Regions from separate parts of the Homo sapiens genome. Here region 2 is linked to region 1. The links are contacts of gene promoters, found by promoter capture Hi-C in human tissues and cell types (Jung and others, 2019). All regions are on one chromosome and are shown on one strand. The core of a region is centred on a gene start or on the middle of the fragment in contact, and the rest is flanking DNA. Distances in the headings are between cores, read along the strand shown.

Region 1 (7,253 bases), core at 2,500-4,999:
GGGGGCCTGGGCAGAAAGATAGCTGAGATTCTAGGCAGCTGAAATGTGGCCTAGGGGGCAGTGAGGATGGCCTGGCGATGCAGGCAGGTAGGCATGAGACCCAAGGGAGGGAATTCTGGGAGGGTGCCACTTACGCATCAGGTAGACACCCAGGTCAACACCGGCAAGCAGAAAGCCCAAGAGGAATCGGAGGGCCATGACGCCTGTGGAGGAGCCTGCAGCAGCCCCTCCTACTCCACAGGGGCCCACCAGCCCCAAGGTCAGCAGCACAATCCCGCGACGGCCAAATCTAGAAAGTGGGAAGGGCTTCTGGTCACCCAGACTCTCTGGTGGTGGGAAAGTTGCTGGGTAAGACCCAGCTGCACACTTCAGAGCTAGAGGTATGAGAATGAAGTTCTGGGAGCAAGAGTTGGACAGAGGCTTGAGAAGATGGGGAGGGATGGGGACCATGGGTGGGTGATGCCTGGCTACTGGGCACTGGGGTGTGGTTGTGGTTCTTTAAGAGGTGGGAACATTGACTCTTGGGCTATTGGTCAGAGATTAGGGCACTTGTCAATGGATGTGACATCACTCAACAGAGGGGATGGGATATTGCTTAGGGGATTTGGGACCATTCATCCTTAGGAACAGAGCTAATGGTCAGTGGGCCTGGAGCTTATCTTGCTCAGACTGTTCAGAGGAGATGTGGGAGGGGGGTTCATTGATATACGGAGTTGGAACTATTAACCTGTGGAGGGGAGGCCATTGGCCACTTGTGCATGAGGATACTACTGGTCAGTGAAGGTAAAGCCAATGATATTAGGGGACTGAGTAATTGATTTTTGGAGATGAGGCCATTGTTCCATGGAGGTGGGACATTGGTCTATTAATACATTAAGAATGGTCAGGCTGGGCGCAGTGGCTCACACCTGTAATCCCAGCACTTTGGGAGGCCGAGGCTGGCAGATCACGAGGTCAGGAGTTCAAGACCAGCCTGACAAATATGGTGAAACCCCATCCTTACTAAAAATACAAAAATTAGCCAGGTGTGGTGGCAGGTGCCTGTAGTCTCAGCTACTCGGGAGGCTGAGGCAGGAGAATCGCTTGAACCTGGGAGGCAGAGGTTGCAGTGAGCTGAGATTATGCCACTGCACTCCAGCCTGGGCAACAGAGCGAGACTCCATCTCAAAAAGAAAGAAAAAAGAAAAAAAAGAAAGAAAAAAGAAAGATCAGTGGGGACATAGACATGGGTGTATTAATCCATAAGGTAGGACTATTGATCAGTGGGATGAATCTATTAATCCATGGGAATAATCAGTAAGGATAAGGTCACAGACCAGGGGAGATGAGACTATTGGTAAGTGATTATGGTCACTAACTATGAGTTAGTGAAGACATGGTTACTGATTCTTGGAGGCTGGGCTATTGATCTTTGGGGATAAGACCATTGATCTATGGAGATGAAGATAGGGAGCCTCTGGTCATTGCAAAAGGGGCACCAATCCCTGGGAGTTAGGCTATTGATCTAATGGGGTGGGGCATTTTTCCATGAGGATGGGCTTATTGGTTAATGTGCTGAAGGCTACAGATTTTAGAAGACCAAATTATTGATCTTTGGGGATGAAACCATGGTTCCATAGGAATGAGGCTACTGGTCTGTGGCAATGAGGCCACTGATGCATAGGGATGGGCTATTGACCTGTGGGTTTCGGATCATTGGCCCACAGAGGTGTGTGACTATTGGGCAGTGAGGATGGGTATTGATTTTAAGGAACTGGACTATTGAATGTTGGGATGGCTTTGATCCACAGAAGTTGAGTTATTAATCCACTTGGATGGAACTGTGGATCAATGGGGCTGAGTCTAATCGGAAGTTTAGTGCAGTGAGAGCATCTGGTCAGTGGTGAAGGTGACCAGAATCAGAGATGAGATTTTTGATCTGTGGGAAGAGTTATTGGTTGCTGGGATTGGGTTGTTGATCTCTAGAGGTGAAGCTACCGACTCATGGAAACGGGGATTTCGGTGAGAGGATCTCAAAGCCCTGAGGATCCATGAGGGTATGACTGCTAATCTATGGGCTATTCCCCTACAGAGCGTTGGGTCATTTGGTGGCAGGCATGGGACTGTGGGTTACTGGGTCTGAGGATATTGTCTTTGGAGATAGTTAGTTGACTTGTAGGGGAGGGGTCGCTGGTCAGAAATGGGGTAATTTGTTTGTGAAGTTGAACTATTGATCAGTGGGAATGGAGCTGTTGGTGTTTAGGAATTAACATATTGATCTTCAGGAATGAGGTCACTGAGATGGAGCGAACAGTCCATGTGGGCTGTTAGTGGGGATGAGACTATTCTCTTTGGAGATGAGGCCATTGATTCACGGATAGGGGGCCACTAATTAGTGGGAATGGGACTAATAGTCCATAGAGGTCGAGTCATTCCCTTGCGCGGAAGAGGTAGGGAAGGGGTATTTCTTGATGGAGAGTGAAGTTGAGACATGGATAGACCATTGAATAGAAGTCCAGAGAAGACTGCAGAGTCCAGCGAATCGTCTTCGACCTCCTGTAAACGCCCGCTGCTTGGGTTAGCTTCCCTAGCACCCCCTCCTTTCTACCAGCCCTGCCCCCACGACAGCCCTCACCTGTCTGCGGGGTAACCCAGGAACAGGTAGCCGGAGGCAAAGCCCAAGATGAAGAGGATCTGCTCCAGGATCACCTGCCAGCCCAGGTCACACACCAGATCCCACTGGGGATGTGAGAAGGGTGCAGCGGGCGTGAGGCCCCGCCCTCGCCGCTCTCTGCCCGCCCCCAGACCCGCGGCCCGCCTGGCCGCCTCACCTGGCCGATGGCGTTGGTGGTGAGCACAGGAAGGCCATTATAGTCCCAATCCTTGAGGCAATGGTTGAAGTCCGGCGGGGCGAAGCCGCTGCACGAGGGGTCGGTACTGGTGGCGACACGGCTGGCGGCGCTGGCTGCTAGGGCAGCGCTGGCGACGCTGACGCCGCTGGCATTGGGAGGCTGCTCCCAGCCAGAGGCATTAGGGGGGAAGGCCCCGTAGTGGCAATGCAGCGGGGGCGCCAGCGTGAAGATGGGGTCCGAGGCCATGCCCAGAGCCACGAAGAGCACCGGCAGGCAGCAGAGGCCGAGCTGCAGCTGCTGGCCGCCGCCCAGCGCCCCCACCTGGGCGAGCAGCGCCTCAAAGCTGAGGGGGCCTGGGGGCACGGCCAGCGACAGGCTGCTGCCCAGTCCGTCGCCGCCCGCGTCTCCCTCCCCCTCCCGCTCGCGCTCCCGCTCACCCTGCAGCTGCTCCGTGGGCACCGCATCTCCGAGGGTCCCGACCTGCTGTTGGGGGGCAGGGGGTGGCAGGAGAAGGGTGAAGCGGAGGAAACCGCAGAGCAAGGGCAGGGGGCAGGTGGGAGGGAGGGCTAGGAAGGCAGTCAGGGGCGAGGGATGCGCAGGAGGAAAATGCCAGACGCTCCGCGGGGGCGGGGGTGCTGGGAGAGGATGGCGTCGCCACCTGGGGCTCGGGCACTTACTCCGTTGGAGGTGGGGGTGATCTCTACAGTGTTGTCGATTTTGCCGCCGCCCCCGCCATTGGGCTCGGGGGTCCCGGTGGCCACCCGGGGAGCCAGCTTGCCGACCGCAGGGGCCCTGCCGGCCCGCGCCGAAAGGATGCGCTGTCCTCTGGCTCAGTTGCGCGCCGGCTGCCCGGACACAGACAGCTCGAAGAGATCCCGCTCTGCAGCTCTGCAGCCGCGGGCGCCTCCTTGGTCTCTGCGATCTCTGCGCTGCTTTCCCCTCCCCTTCCTCTAGACTCTCCTCCCCTTCCCACGTCAGCAGAACCTTCGGTCCAGACTCTTCGTCAGAGAGAGGAAGGGGGGCCAGGGCCCAGGGGAGGGAGGGAAGGGGGGCTCTGTCGTCTCTTTCCTGGGTCTGCGGGCCATTGCGGTAAAAAAGAAAAAAAGCTGAAGGATAGTAGCTAGTCCAGGCAGATGCCAGAGATTCTTCCTCTGCTTCCAATCATTTGCCATCATTCATTCATTCATTCATTCACCCATTCACTAATCAGTAAAATTTAAGTGTCCACTACGTTCCAGGACTTGCACTAGACTTTAAGGATAACAGGGTGGACAAGTTCCACTTTGGAGACCTTTACTCCAGGGAGACAGACATGTAAACTGGCTATTACAGTACAACTTATGCATATGGAAGACTGTCTTGGCCCTGTATCAGCCCTAGCTTCAGTCCTCTACAAGGAGACCACTTTCTTGGGTTTCATCACTCCCATCCTGTTTGAATCTCCATTTCTCAACAGCATTTGGCACTGTTGACCCCTCTTCCTCTAAACACTCTCTTCCTTTGCTGCTGAGTCTCTCTTGCTCCCCTTTTCTCCATTGCAGAAATCGTCTTCCAGCTCATGGCATTGGTGCTGAGCATGGGCAGGCCATTATCCTCCCGGTTCTTGAGGCAATGATTGAAGTCCAGCGGGGTGACGCAACTGCAGGAGGGGTCTGTATTGGTAGTGATGAGGCTGTGGTGCTGGCTTCTAGGGCCATTCCCGTCTGTATCATTTAGACACCATGGTTCAGTGTCTGGAATCCTCACAGACTTAGTCCTAGGCCCTCCTCTCATCTCACACTGTCTCCACTTTGGGATCTTACCTATGCCCACAGCTTCAATCACCACCCATACAAACAATACAAACCTGACGCCCAGACTGACATCTCCAGCTTCCACCTCTGTTCTGAGCTCCAGACCTATGAAGCCACCTCTTATTTGACCTTCACCTTGGATGACTCACAGGGACCTCAAACTCAATATGTTCAAGACGAAATTTTTGCTTTTCCCCCATAACTTGGTTGGCTTCCACTGCTTTTTTCTGCAGCGAATGGCACCCTCAACATCGCATTGTGGCCAAATGCTCAGGCAACAGCCTTTAGAGCTTTCTCTTCCTTATCCATGTTGAATTCTTTACAAAATTCTGCCCATTTTACTTCCTATATATTCTCAGACATCCCACATCTCTCCATCTCTACCATTATTAGTCAAGCTACCTGTTGCAAAGACCACTTTAGCTCCCTAATTCCTAACTGGTGTTCAGCGTCCGCTTTGTTTATACCTCCTTATCACCCATATGTCATTTATAGTCAGATAGAATGATCTTTTCAAAATACAGATCTGATCATGTATCTTTCCTGCTAACCAGCCTTCAGTGGTGTCTCCTCACTGTCAAAGTGAATATTAAAAATCTAGATACCTCATACATGGTTCTACATGCCTGGTCACATGCTGTCTGTAGTTCCATCTCACTTCTTTCCCCAAACTCTCTGCACTCCAGCCACAGACCTTCTTCTAGTTTTCCCAGCGCCACGAGGCCTTTGAACAAGCTGGTTCCTGCACCTAAAAAGCTTCTTAGTCACATTTTTCTCATCCTTCAGCTCTCAGCCTAAACATCTTTGCTACACAGGAGTCTTCCCTAACCTCTAGAATTGCTACTCAAAGTGTGGTTCATGGACCAGCAGCATTCCTGGGAGCTTGTTAGAAATGCAGAATCCAAGCCTCACCCAGACCCTTGAATCATAATCTGTATTTTATCCAGATCTCCAGGCATAGGTATTATACATTAAAGGTAGAGACACACATCTCTAAGAGATTTGTTACCTGATAGGTACTTTATTCTCTAATCCTAGGTAAGGGCTAGAAAGCAGTGTTCTATCATTGTCAGCCGGGAAATCTTTCCCCCTTCTCTCCACTGAACCACACTTTTAACTTGTCTCTGTTCAGAAATTTTCCACGTATGGGAAACTCTTTTCTTCAGACAGGGTCTCACTGTCTTACCCAGGATGGAGTGCAGTGGCTTGATCACAGCTCACTGCAGTCTCCACCTCCCCAGCTCAAGCAATCCTCCTACCTCAGCCTCCTGAATAGCTGGGACTACATGCATGTGCCACCACACTTGGCTAATTTTTTGATGTTTTGTTGAGACAGGGTCTCACTGTGTGGCCCAGGCTGGCCTCATACTCCTGAGTTCAAGCCGTACTCCGGCCTCAGCCTCCCGAAGTGCTGGGATTACAGGTGCGAGTCACTGCATCCCTCCGAAACATTTCTTTGCTAATGCATCAAGCAGCCTCCTACCACTTCCCCTCTCCCAACTCATTTCAGCATCTCTTCAGGTTTTACTATGGTGCTGTATAGCCAATATTCCTTGGGGATTTATCGTCTGCATCCTTGTGTCTGTCCTGGAATAATAATCACTTAATTTATACATTGTGGGGCTGTTCACATGCATTTTCTTGTTAGGTCCTCACAATAACCCTGTAAGACCATTATGATCATGCTAATATTGAAGATGAAACCAGGACTTCAGAGGGACTGGCATGATTTACCCATGGATGCACAACTACATGGCAGATCAGAGACTTGAATTGAAACCTCTAATTCCAGGCTAATCTCTTGAAATTCTGTTTGGAAGATGATGGACGATAGACTTCAACACATGGGGGTGAATTTTGTTGGCCCCAGAATCTGACAGTGCATTTTTCTTTGAGAGTGAGATGAGAAAGGAACCTAAAGGGGAGGAGGCAAATGTGCAGGGGTGCCAACAGACTATGATTATGCCCCCAATCCAGTCATCATGCCATGGTAATATCTTGGGAAAGCAGAACTGAAGCAATTGATTTGTAGCTTGGATGTTTTCCCTTGTGGTAAATGGCTAGCGTGATCTATCTAAGCCACGGTCTTATCAATTTCACCAAAGTCCTGAAGACTGACCTTTCAACACATTGCATTCATCTGCAACCGCGGATCCTCCAGAAAATGGTTTGTCCAGAAGGATGATGAGCAGGTCATCCTGAGATGATCTACCTGGGAAGCCAAGTGAAAAGGCCTATACCCTCTTGGTGTCACCTAAGGAAGAGGGTGCCTAGACTGGCCAGCAGCAGTCTCCAGTTGGCCAGGGCTATCCTGTGGTGCAAAGCTGAGGCTGGGCCTTTAGTTGGGGTGGCCTCTCCAGGATGGCACATTTCAAGGCCCTTATGTGGTCAGCTTCTCTCCACATTGACACCTCTCTAATGACATCATATGACAATGAAGTCTTGGAGGAAGGCCCTCAGGTCAGTCATCGGCATCTGCCTTCTGGGAACACTAGTCCTCAGACTCTCCTCCTCTGGGTTTCAGTTCAGATCTCACCTCCCAACCATCCTGTCTAAAGTCTCCTTCACTGCCCTCTCCCCTCATCTAGTTAGTTTCTTCAAATCATCCTGCCGACGTCCATCACCAGCA
Region 2 (7,253 bases), core at 3,020-5,519, 380 kb before region 1:
GTGAGCCACTGCACCCGGCCCCTTTTCCTCTTTTTATTCCCTTCTTTATAGGTACAGTCTGAAGGTTCTCATCCAGCTGGCTTTATGTGCTTGGAAGTAGGTCTTTCTCTACATCCTCCTTGACTGAGGACAGTCTCCAGCCTGATTATAAATGGCATCTTACCATTTCCCTGGTCCTGAGAGAGCTCCAAGTGGTGGAGGGGAAGATACTCTCTAAGGAGTAAGGCAGAGAGAAAACCATCACCAGATTTATTTATTTTTTTTATTTTTTTTATTTTTTGAGATGGAGTCTTGCTCTGTTGCCCAGGCTGGAGTGCAGTGGCACGATCTTGGCTCACTGCAAGCTCCGCCTCCCGGGTTCATGCCATTCTCCAGCCTCTGCCTCCCGAGTAGCTGGGACCACAGGCACTCACCACCACGCCCGGCTAATTTTTTTGTATTTTTTAGTAGAGACAGGGTTTCACCGTGTTAGCCAGGATGGTCTTGATCTTCTGACCTCATGATCCACCCACCTCGGTCTCCCAAAGTGCTGGGATTACAGGTGTGAGCCACTGCGCCCGGCTTTTTTTTTTTTTTTTCTTTGAGACGGAGTCTCGCTCTGTCGCCCAGGCTGGAGTGCAGTGGCATGATCTCGGCTCACCGCAAGCTTCACCTCCCAGGTTCACGCCATTCTCCTGCCTCAGCCTCCCGAGTAGCTGGGATTACAGGCTCCCACTACCACGCCTGACTAATTTTTTGTGTTTTTAGTAGAGATAGCGTTTCACCATGTTGGCCAGGCTGGTCTCAAACTCCTGACCTCAGGTGTTCTACCTGCCTCAGCCTCCCAAAGTGCTGGGATTACAGATGTGAGCCACCGCGCCCGGCCACCAGCTTTATTTTTGATAACCCATTCAGGCCTGTGGTGAACAGGGCTGGCCAGAGCAAAGACTGAAGTCTGCAGTCAAAGCCTAACCCTTGTCCTGTGACTGTCATCTATAAAGACAGACTTGGTCCATAATTCCTCCATTTTCCCCCTTTCTGCATCTCAGCACTAGTAGTTGTTGATTAAATCAGGTGGCAAGTTGGCCAAACAAGCTCCACCTTTTGATGTATATTTGGCAGCACCTCACGAATCTTTCATCATCAACTGTAAATACTAAAAAACTGTAAATACTAAACAGAAATATTGAGGAGGATTAGTCTCCCAGCAAATAGGAAGAAGGGAAGCTCTTGTGATGCAGGGTACACCTGGGAGCCTGCCAGTGATGGTGCTGGGGTGGCTAGGACTGCTCTTTTTTCATGGCCTGCCCTTATCAGCTGTTATCATTTATTTTTCCTCAGGAAGAAGTAGCCTCAGTGGCAAGAACAGAGTCTTGGGGAGCCCCAAGGCTAGGACAATCAGCACAGACCTAGAAAGGAATGAGTCGGATCAGGAACAGAAGAGGCCAAAATCAGAGTAAGAAACAAAGGGTCAGGAGCTGGGCACAGAAGCTCATGCTTGTAATCCCAGTGACTTAGGAGGCCAAAGTGGGAGATCACTTGAGGCCAGAAATTCAAGACCAGCCTGGGCAACATAGTGAGATGCTGTCTCTAAAAAAAAATTTTTTAAACTTAGCCAGTCATGGTTGTGCACACCTGTAGTCCCAGCTACTTGGGAGGCTGAGGCGGGAGAATCGCTTGAACCCGGGAGGCAGAGATTGCAGTGAGCCATAATTGTGCCACTGCACTCCAGCCTGGGTGACAGAGTGAGACTCCCAACTCTTTTTTTTTTTTTTTTTTTTTGAGATGGAGGCTTGCTCTGTTGCCGAGGCTGGAGTGCACTGGCATGATCTCAGCTCACTGCAACCTCTGCCTCTCGGGTTCACGCCATTCTCCTGCCTCAGCCTCCCGAGTAGCTGGGACTACAGGAGCCCACCACCACGCCTGGCTAATTTTTTGTACTTTTAGTAGAGACGGGGTTTCACCGTGTTAGCCAGGATGGTCTCAATCTCCTGACCTCGTGATCTGCCTGCCACGGCCTCCCAAAGTACTGGGATTACAGGTGTGAGCCACCGCACCTGGCCTTTTTTTTTCTTTTTGAGATGGAGTCTTGCTCTGTTGCCCAGGCTGGAGTGCAGTGGCGCGATGGCTAACTGCAATCTCCGCCTCCCGGGTTCAAGCGATTCTCCTGCCTCAGCCTCCCAAGTAGCTGGGACTACAGGTGCACCCCACCATGCCTGGCTAATTTTTTTATTGTTAGTAGAGACGAGGTTTCATCATGTTGGCCAGGATGGTCTTGATCTCCTGACCTCATGATCCTCCCACCTCAGCCTCCCAAAGTGCTGGGATTACAGGGGTGAGCCACTGTGCCTGGGCAAGACTCCCAACTCTTAAAAAAAAAAAAAAAAAAAAGAGGCAGGGCTCAGTGGCTGACAACTGTAATCCCAGCACTTTGGGAGGCCAAGGCAGGCGGATTACCTGAGGTCAGGAGTTTGAGATCACCCTGGCCAACATGGCAAAACCCTGTCTCTACTAAAAATACAAAAATTAGCCAGGTGTGGTGGCGCCGGCCTATAATCCCAGCTACTCAGGAGGCTGAGGCAGGAGAATCACTTGAACCCAGGAGACGGAGGTTGCAGTGAGCTGAGATTGCACCATTGCACTTCAGCCTGGGCAAGAGAGCGAGATTCTGTCAAAAAAAAAAACCCTGAGAGCCGGGCACAGTGGCTCATGCCTGTAATCCCAGCACTTTGGGAGGCCGAGACAGGCAGATCACAAGGTCAGGAGATCGAGACCAGCCTGGCTAACACAGTGAAACCCCGTCTCTACTAAAAATACAAAAATTAGCCGGGTGTGGTGGCGGGCGCCTGTAGTCCCAGCTACTTGGGAGGCTGAGGCAGGAGAATGGTGTGAATCCGGGAGGCGGAGCTTGCAGTGAGCCGAGATAGCGCCACTGCACTCCAGCCTGGGCGACAGAGTGAGACTCTGTCTCAAAAAAAAAAAAAAAAAAAAAAATATCCCTGAGGGGATGGATGTAAAGTTACACAAGCTTGTCTGGATTTCCCATCATAGGGCCTTTGTATTCACTTATTTAATAATAGTTCAGAAGAAGCTATCTCAGCTGTACAAGAAGTAATTCAGTTTCAGAACATTTCTCACTCCAACAAGGTGCATTTTCCCCTCTGGCGCTCAGTTGTATAAATCTGACCTCTTTCCCTCTCACTCAGAGATCTCTTTTATGTATTTCCCAGGTTGGCTGGCATAGTCACCTTAGAATAGCCCCCAAATGTGGAAATTCTGTTGTCAGGAGTCATCATTTCCAGTAAGAAACTCACTGAGTGACAGAAAATGAAGACTAAAGATCAAAGATTACTAAATTAATTTGCCTAAAACCAATTCACCTAAAACCAATTAGTCTAAAATAAATATTTATCAAATCTGCAGCATTTCAAAAGGATTTAGCAGATTCACCCTTTTAGTTATTACTGTTGTCTGTATAACTTTTCATTGTAAGTCAACTGAATATGCCTCATGCCTATTCATTTGTTTAAGATATACTGGCCTTTTTAACAGTAGGAATGTAGAAGTTAGACCAAAGCATCAAAATCACATTGAACTCCATTATATTTTTCAAGGCATTTAATTTGTAAAGGAATATTGGATTAAGAAACAAAAAAATGATACACAAAATGTCTGTACCAATTGTATTTATTGCTAGAAACTTTAAACTTTTTAAAAAAGTTTTTGAATGGTAGATAACATAGAAAAAGACATCCATAAAGGTAGGAAGCAATCTCATCATTTACAAAGTGCTGCAAATTTGATAAATTTATGTTGCTGATAATAGCTCAGAAGTACTCTTGGATGAATAGATATAAATCCTTGAAATATCCAAAGCATGACAAAAAAGAATAGGACACCTAAATGGATATAAACACACCAAAATAGGAATTGAGCTTTTGGCAAATTAGTCATTAAGTCATTAACTTTAAGCAAACAAGTTTTCAGTAAATTGGTTTTAAGAGATCTAGCTTTAGGTGAACTAGTTTCAAGCAAACTGACTAGTATCAAATCAGTGTTTTGCTCCCTCCAGTTCCCCCCAACTCTAGTTTTGGGATTGTGATGGATGCAATCCGGGACCCCTCTGAGAGGTGGCAAGTGAGCTTCTACTAGGAAACCAAGTGTACAAGTGACCTGAGAAGAGAGTAAGAAAGAGTGAGAGAGAGACAGAGAGACAAGAGAGAGAGTGTGTGTGTGCATGAACACACCCACACATGCATACACTGGGCTATATGGCTCAGTGCACCTAAACTTGGGAATGTGGCTAAGCTGAAGCTTCCTAGACATCCCCCCAACAAGCTCCACACCCACAGAGATCTGCTCATTACCTCCCCCAGCCAAGGAGAAGAGCAACCACGTACAATCACCTACCTAGCCTCCCCAGACCCATGTAAGTTCCTGAGAAACAGGGAATACAGGCAGCAACCCCACTCAGAGCTGGTCCCCATTCTCAGACAGATAAGGAGCTCTCCTAGTCCTTAGAAGAAGGCCAAGAAATAACTCATTAATGAGGTCCAGAGTTTCTACCTCTTCATCCAGATATAGGTGCGGGACCCCATATCTGACACCATGTGTCACAAAAAGTGAGGAGCTTAAATTTGGTTGCCTAGCAGGAACTCACCACCCTAGACTTGCTACCTCTCAGGGACATCCCACACTGCATCAACCACAACCCCAAAACTCTGGGGTTTGGGGGAGCTGGAGGGAGAATTACACTTTGATTTGGTTCTAGTCAGTTTAGCTGAAACTAATTGATTTAAAGCTAGGTCCTCTACTCCTGGAATCCAGGACCAGAACATTGCGTGACTCATGCATAATCATACACTAGGCCAGACACAGTGGCTTACGCCTATAATCCCAGCACTTTGGGAGGCCAAGGTGGGAGGATCATTCGAGCCCAGGAGTTCAAGACTAGCCTGGGCAACATGGTGAGATCCCATCTCTAAAACAAACAAAATATATATACTGAAGATACAGAATCAGATGTTCAGAAAGTCCTGGAACCCTCCTGTGTGTGCCTAAGCTCAGACTGCACACATGGGAAAAAGGCCAGTCGCCCCCACCCTGGTAAATATAAGGTTTCTCTTCCACAATCCATTTGGAATATCATGATCTTTGGGTCTCCGGCCCTTGGGGTCCTCCCCAGAGGACTCTTCTGCCAGGCCTGCAGAGTGCATTCTTTGCCTTGGCTGGCCTCAGAGGGGCCCACTGGCCACAGCAGTTTGTCTGCAGGGTGACAGCAGCAGCAGTGATTGCAGCTCAGATATAGTTGGCAGGGGGTTGTCGGGCATTGAGCCGCTGCATGTGGCAACCATGGCAGAGCAAGTGCCCATCCAGAGGGAAACAGCAGCAGCCTTCCTCATCACTCAGCTGCATCCGGCAGTCCTAGGGAAGAAGGCACCTAGTTCACCTCAGCCTAGGCACCTTGGACACTGAGGGTATCTTAGGAGTCTGCCCTGCTCAACACCTGACTCCTAATAACTGGAAGAAAGGGATGGGGTGGGAAGGGAAGGATGGAAGGGATGGAAGAGCAATCTGAGAAAATACTAATACCTCAGCTGGACACCAGGTGTCACTGCTGCAGCAGAAATAATGACACAAGCCTGTCTTTCAAGAAGTTTGACCAGAGTCCCTAGTCTTAGAAAGTCCTGACTCTGGGAGAGTCAGATTCAGAAAGGACTAAGCTACTTGGACCAGAGAGAGTGGCTGGAGGACAAAAAAGAGACTGAAGATAGGTCACAATATCTTTCTGGTTTCCCATGCCCTACACCTCTCCCATAGATGTCTGGTTGTTGCAGGACTTGACTCCTCCCCTCTCCCCATTTCCACTTCTTCTCCAGCACCGCTGAACCCCAACACTCACCTCACAGTGGTAGCACTCAAAGTGATAATCCCGGTCCATGGATATCACCCTCACGATGTCCTCACAGCCCTGAAACATGCAGACCCCCATGGAGATGAGAGCAGCATGTTGCCTCACCTCCACCTTTCCCTCATATACAACCCTTCCCACCCCATGGGAAGATCATACAAATGCCCCCAGAGTCTCTCTGCAATCACCTGTAGTTTTAAGATGCTTCTGCAAATCCTACCAGAACTCTCATCTCCTTCACTGGGCTGCACCCATGGAGCACACTCCCTCTGTACAACAGCCCTGGCCTTACCTGCGTCTCTCAGTTGTGCAGGAAGCAAAGGGAAGGGAAGGGGACAGGAGGCCTAAATAAAGTAGGCTAGGCTGGGAACAAGGGGATCCAATAAGATCTGGTCCTCACTGGCTTTTGGTTTCTCTCCATAGGCACATCCCCTACACTCAGCTTAAATCATTTCTGACCCCTTCCTACCAGTGCTGAGGATTCTTCCCACCTTTTTCCAGCCCCTACATCTGCAGTCTGGTGACCTCGACCTCAAAGAAAGTCTCCTCCTCTGGACTGGGATAGAAGAGATGGAGCCTGGGCCCAGTTAGGCTTTCAGACATGTCCAGGCCCGGATATTAGGGTCAGGGTGGTGACCCCAAGAGGCAGAGTCACACGGGAATCTTCACAGAGTACATTCCTTGGCACTACCACTTCTGGCAGGAGGCCAGGCAGCATGTCCCTATCCCCTCCCCAAAGGCAGTGGCACTGGCTGCCCTGAAGGAGAACCCAGACATACTGACCTCAGAGGGGAGGATGGGTTGGCCACAGGCTGCACACTTAGGAGCATAATTTCTGAAAGAGAGAGGGAAGAGATGAGCTGAGGCTGGGGAATCCCTGGACCCAGTTCCACACTGCATCCCAAGGGGCAGACTCACTTGTGGTAGTCGGTGACACAGTATACTTGGTTGGAGAAGTCCACTGTGAAGGGGATGCCATCCAGGCACTTGTTGCAAACAATGCATCGGAAACAGCCTGGATGATAGGACTTCCCCATTGCTTGTAGGATCTGGCTCATGGGGTAGCAAGAGAATCAGTCTCCCTCCAGTCCCAGCTCTCCAGCTGCCCATTATGCTCCTTATTACTCCCATTAACCTCATCCAACCCGCTGCTATACTCCCAGAACAATGCTATGTAATGTCGGTGAAGAAGTCGTAAAATGGAGGCGGAGACCCTGAAAAGTGCCTGAGAGAGCATTCAGGCCAGCAGTGTTTCACTCTGGCTGCATATCAGGATCACCTAGGCAGCTTTTAAAAAACATCAATGCTTTGGCCCTCCTCCAGGCCTATTATCACAATCTGTGGTGATGGGATCCAAACACTG

The links. Contacts are between HindIII fragments. The study calls those that stand out against the background at their distance.
Region 2: a fragment that was not itself captured here is called in contact with the fragment with the promoter of SLC22A17 in region 1 in 1 of the 25 tissues and cell types used here (pancreas).

The regions. Positions count from the first base shown.
Region 1 is chr14:23,349,138-23,356,390 of GRCh38, forward strand. It overlaps SLC22A17 (solute carrier family 22 member 17), which reads right to left and starts at 3,750. Exons shown (of 10, transcript NM_016609.7): 1 at 3,509-3,750; 2 at 2,811-3,314; 3 at 2,615-2,718; 4 at 135-289. The coding sequence starts at 3,604. The HindIII fragment of the contact is 16,780 bases long and covers 1-7,253 here.
Region 2 is chr14:22,968,166-22,975,418 of GRCh38, forward strand. It overlaps AJUBA (ajuba LIM protein), which reads right to left. Exons shown (of 8, transcript NM_032876.6): 5 at 6,809-6,939; 6 at 6,674-6,725; 7 at 5,882-5,950; 8 at 3,012-5,403. The coding sequence ends at 5,278. Among named protein-coding and RNA genes, the nearest start is that of AJUBA, 11 kb to the right of the region's middle. RefSeq lists an enhancer at 6,733-7,233. The HindIII fragment of the contact is 4,887 bases long and covers 1,827-6,713 here.